Linked DNA regions of Homo sapiens: region 1 is linked to region 2. The links are contacts of gene promoters, found by promoter capture Hi-C in blood cells and fetal thymus (Javierre and others, 2016). All regions are on one chromosome and are shown on one strand. Each heading gives the region's core, a stretch centred on a gene start or on the middle of the fragment in contact. The rest is flanking DNA. Distances are from core to core; before and after follow the strand shown.

Region 1 (2,724 bases), core at 136-2,635, 110 kb after region 2:
TTTGGCCGGGCACGGTGGTTCACGCCTGTAATCCCAGCACTTTGGGAAGCCAAGACGGGCGGATAATTTGAGGTCAGGAGTTCGAGACCTGGCCAACATGGTGAAACCCCATCTCTACTAAAAATACAAAAAGTACTTGGGTATGATGGTGGCACCTATAATCCCAGCTATTTAGGAGGCTGAGGCGGGAGAATCACTTGAACCCTGGAGGCAGAGGTTGCAGTGAGCCAAGATGGTGCCACTGCACTCCAGCGTGGGCGACAAGAGTGAGACTCCATCTCAAAAAAAAGGCTGGGGCCAGGTGCAGTGGCTTACGCCTGTAATCCCAGCACTTTGGGAGGCCGAGACGGGTGGATCACCTGAGGTCGGGAGTTCGAGACCAGCCTGGCCAACATGGAGAAACCCTGTCTCTACTAAAAATACAAAAATTAGCTGGGCATGGTGATGTGTACCTGTAATACCAGCAACTTGGGAGGCTGAGGCAGGAGAATCGCTTGAACCTGGGAGGCGGAGGTTGCAGTGAGCCCAGATCGTGCCACTGCGTTCCAGCCTGGGCGACAGAGCAAGAGTCTGTCTCAAAAAAAAAAAAAAAAAAAAAAAAAAAATCTGCATTTTTAACATGCATCCCATGCACCCCATCCACACTAAAGTTTGGAAATGATTGCATCCCTAGTTTACAGAGGAGGAGACTGAGGCACAGAGAAGTTGATTGACTTGTGCAAAGTAACAGAGCTGGAGAATGGTGGAGACAGGACTCAAACAAAGGATTGCCTGATTCTGGAATCCACAGTTTTAATCATATTGTCTATTACACTAGAAAAACTGATGTCCAGAGTGACTGTGTGTATTTAGTCATGTATATTGATTTGTGTGTATTTCGTGTGCCAACAAAGTTTGCTAGACTGTGACCCTTGGAAGGCAATTAATGTGTTTTATTTCTCTCAGTATTTGTAGCATCCATTACCATGCCTAGTACACAGAAGATCCTCAACAGAAGCTGTTTGAATTAAATTTCTACAGATACGTAGTTATCCATCTCTATAAACATTCACAGATAAATATATACAGAGGACATCTCATTTTCAGGTAGCATCTGAGAACAAGTTGTGACAACTAGAAACCTTCCCTCTCTATCTTGAACTATTTCAATCAAGCTTTTGCTAGCATTATTCCATTGACATGGCTCTTGTCAAGGTCACCAGTAACCTCCATGTTGATGATTCCAATGATCAATTCTCAGCCTCCAGCTTGTCTGACCCCTCCACAGCTTTGGACATAGGGCTTTCTTCCCTCCTGCAACTCTCTCTCACTTCCTTTGGCTTCCAGGATATTCCTATCTCTTTGAATGCTTTTTTTTTTCTTTAAACAACACTAACAACACTTTTGCTGATTCCTCTTCATCTTTCAGACATCTTTACCTTGCAGTGCTGAAGGGTACCATCCTTGAGCCCCTTCTCTTTCTATGTTCACTTAGTTGATGATCTCAAATTTAAATACCATCCATCTGCTCACTGACCACTCTCCAATGACATCTTCAGCCCAGACCTTGCCCCTGAGCTGAGGCTATCATGTCTAGCTGCCTGTCAATGGCTGCACTTGGATGTCAAATAGGCATCTCAAGCTTCATATGTCCAACACTGAGCTCCTAATCCCCTAAAACCTACTCCTTCCAGTTTCCTCCATCTCAGTTAAGGACAACTCCATCTTTCCATTGGTTCAAGGTAAAACACTTATCGTTGTCCTTGACTTCTTTCTTTTTCTCTCACTCCATCAGCAAATTCTGTCAGAGCTACCTTCAAAATGTAGATGACCGCTTTCCACCACTTCCATTGCTACCGCTCTGGTCCAATCATCTCTCACCTGGTTTATTCAGGTGGTCTCCCAACTGGCCTTCCTGCTTCAGCTTTGCCTCTTAAATCTGTTCTCCATGTAACAGCCAAGAGACCTGTTAAACCCAGGGTCAGATCATCTCAGTCCTCTGCTCAAAACTCTCCATATCACTCTAGCAAATGCCAAATTCCTAACAATGACCTAAAAGGCCCTATATAATCTCTTTCATTTACATATTAAGCATATTCCTGCCTCGGAGGCATTGCACTTGCTGGTCTCTTGAGACCTTGGTTCTTAACCTTTTTTGTGCATGTGCCATGGACTGTTTTGGCAGTCTGTGACACCTGTGGACTCCTTCTGAGTATAGTATCTTTAAATCCATAAAATAAGTTCCACAAATCATTAAGAAAACAAATTGTACTGAAATACAACTCTCGAAATATTTAAACATATATATGTGCTTCTCTATTAATTCATTAAATTATAAGAGTTAGCAGCATGATTTTGAAGTAGTGATGAGTAAAATGATACTTTTTCAATAAATTACTCATAAAGTGTAACGATATTTTAAGATATTTGCAACAACTCTAAAGTGATATGAAAATATCTGTGATTTCTACCAGCAGTAATGTCACAGGTGCTGCTAATATCACTGATTTGTTATCTGTATTCATAATTGAAGGACACGCTACATTTTAATTAGTGAAAATAAAGTTGTAATTTTTTTCTCACCTAAGGTCAAGATCCTCTGAATTCTATCCACAGACCCATGGAGAGGAGAGTCTATGGTCTCCAGGTTAAGAACGGCTGGCTTCTCTTCCCCCATGTACATACACACATACTCCCACATACAGTTCACTCCTTTACCTGCTCTTCTCAAAGACTGTCTTCTCG
Region 2 (2,777 bases), core at 67-2,566:
TTTATTTTTTAAATACATGGAATGTTAGTCTAACAAAAACATTATTTATTTCCCCAATTCTCTGACATTTGCCTAACCATGGAAAACCAGGATTTCCCAGGAGCACCTAGAAGGCAGGGAAAAGGGACGGGTGCCTCTGGCATTGCTTCCCTACGTACTGTTCTAATAAACCCCAATATGTGAAGCAAAACCAAGTGGCTTAGGCCTGCAGGGGCCAAATGACCAGAGTCAGGCAGCCATAATAGGTATAGAAACCAAGATCAAACCAAGTCACCCTATTTTCCTAACACAATTTCAGGAAAATCGAAGCTCTCTAATAGGGAGTCTCAAGATTTGCCACCTTCCTCATGGAGGGGTGAAAGGAATGCCTTATCAGGCACTTCAAAAGCGGGCCTTTGTCCTTTTGGTGCTGCAGCCAGGATGAAGTGGGCTTTGAGACCTTCACAAAAAGGCATCGGCCATTTTCATAAGAGGGAAAGCAGAGAGGTGAAGCTGGTTCCTACTTAGGACCCCGTGGGCTGTGGAGTGAGGAGAAAAAGCCATAGGATACAGATTACATCCTCTCATTAGTGATTAAAATCCATCAATCCTGCCAGAAGCTGCATGGCCCCAGGTATATCACTTCTCTCCCTAAGCTTTTTCATCTGTAAAATGGGGATCTCCGTTTCTCTCTCTGCACGTTTGCCATGTAGGTGACAGGGGCTAACGGACTTCGAATGCATACTGCAAAGGTGATGGTTTGAGCTAATAATAATAGTAATACAAATAACAATAGCAACCTTTGAACCCGCCATGTATTTAGCTCTTCACCCTTTAATTATTACAGCCATCATAACCACCCTTTTACCAGAAGAGAAAACTGAGGCTCAAAGATAAGGATCTTTCCAAGGGGCCTCCAGGGTGGGAATCAGTCTTCGGGCCGACCAATGCGGATGGAGGTTGGGCCCGGGTTCAGTCTGGGGCAGAGGTTCGGGTCAGGGGTGAGCCCTGGGAGAGGCCTTGAGGGTCGGAAGATAGGGGACAGGATCAGCCGGCCGGCAGGGGTCCGCACCTGCAGCCTAGGAAGAGATGGTTGGCCCAGACCATGGAGAGGGAGAGCAGCTGGTCCAGGCGGCCACTGCCGTCGGGCGGGTCGCGGTAGTCGGGCAGGTGGCGCAGGATGAATTCCATGCGGGCCTTCCATTGCTTCTCGCTCTCTGAGTAGGAGCGGAACTGCTCCGCGAAGTCGGCCGCCTGCCGCACCCCCGAAACCAGCTCCTCCACTGCGGCAGCCGCCTCGCCACCGACCATGGTGCCCGCCGCAGCCGAGGACCGGATAGCCCGCCGCCTTCCCGACGCGCACTGCGCCACCGCCTGCCGGCCAGAGGGGCCCCATCAGCGCACGACTGCTCCAGAAGACCAACCTGGAGCGCCCTCGCCCGGAGCGGCGGCCTGCGGGGGCACAGAGCGGCTCCTGGCTCCTCAGACCGCCGCAGCCCGTGGCTCCTGCCCTGGGTCTACCCAGGGCTACAAGGGTCTTTTGCGGTCGACCCTGCGGGGAACCGGTGGGAAAACTGAGGTCCCTAAACACAGATTCGGAGCGCCCTCTTCCAGTTGGCAGCTGGATGCCAGCCAGAGCTATGCTGTGCCCTTGCCCTGAGAGTTTCCCGGGCACCGCCTCATCCTGAGCGACATCAGGGGGCCCGGGTCACGGTCGACTTCCAGGGGTCTCCACAGCCACGAAGGTTGGGGCCCGCCTTCCTGGAGCGAGTAATCCATCCATCCCGTGAATACTTGCCAGGCACATTGCTAGGTGCTGGAGAGGCAATGAGAGCACATTCGGAGCCCTGCTCGCCTGAACTTTACCATGGAGTGGAGGAGTGGACATTAGTGACATAATTGCTCAAGTAAATGGAGAATTTCAGCGTTGACAAGTATTAGTAAAGAGAAGTTCAGCGTGCTACAACCATGAATAAGCAAGGGACCCAATCTAGTCTTGGGGTCAGGGAAGTGATCCTGGAGAAGTGAAGAATGAGCAGTTTTCTGAGTAAAGGGGAGTCGGTCAAAGCAAGAGAGAGCATGGCCTGGTAAGAGAATTGCAAGATAGGGGGTAGGAGGGGTTGGGGGGCGGGGCAGGGCAGGTAGAGAATGGAGAAGATGAAGTTGCAGAGGTCAGCAAGGCCAGTAGGCCAGGCAGGGATCCTGGCTAGATCCCAAGAATGGGGAGCCGCTGAAGGATTTTAACCAGAACAGTGACACCTGTGTTTACAAAAGATGCTGGAAGGAGCCAGAAACAATGTGTCCAGAGGAAATGAGCAAGTTTGGACTTGGTTTTAAATAGAGACAGGGTTTCGCCATGTTGCCCAGGCTGGTCTCGAACTCCTGAGCTCAAGTGATCCGTCTCCCTCAGCCTCCCAAAATGCTGGGATTACAGGTATGAGCCATCGTAACTGGCTGGACCTGAAAGTTTTTATTTAGCTGGCATGACTCTGCTGTCTGTTCGAGTCTCAGGTAGCAGACACACTGAGAGAAAAAAGAGCTTCCTTTTAAGTGGTGAATTTTCCATCCCTGGAAGCATTCAACTACAGTAACTGGGTGTTGGGGCTCAGAAACCAACACCCCAAAATGTATTTTGACATGCTGAACTGATGAAGAAGCCTCAAGGTCTCTGTGACCTCCGCCACCAACACACACTCCTGTCTGTCAATTCTTTGTTCCTCCCAAAGCACAAGATGAAGTTGTTCCCTTATCTGCCTAAATTTAGTCCAGAACGCCAAAGGAAACAATTATCTCTGGTT

What was found. The method cuts DNA at HindIII sites, captures the fragments that hold promoters and counts their contacts. A CHiCAGO score of 5 or more calls a contact.
Region 1: a contact is called between a fragment that was not itself captured here and the fragment with the promoter of CDKN2AIPNL in region 2, in 5 of 17 cell types (endothelial precursors, naive CD4 T cells, megakaryocytes and 2 more). The highest score is 7.2, in endothelial precursors.

What each region holds. Positions count from the first base shown.
Region 1 is chr5:134,519,318-134,522,041 of GRCh38, forward strand. No RefSeq gene overlaps it. Among named protein-coding and RNA genes, the nearest start is that of JADE2, 5.0 kb to the right of the region's middle. The HindIII fragment of the contact is 467 bases long and covers 1,153-1,619 here.
Region 2 is chr5:134,410,565-134,413,341 of GRCh38, forward strand. CDKN2AIPNL (CDKN2A interacting protein N-terminal like) reads right to left here and starts at 1,317. Exons shown (of 3, transcript NM_080656.3): 1 at 1,052-1,317. The coding sequence starts at 1,290. RefSeq lists enhancers at 709-1,447, 971-1,460, 1,448-2,185. The HindIII fragment of the contact is 16,822 bases long and covers 634-2,777 here.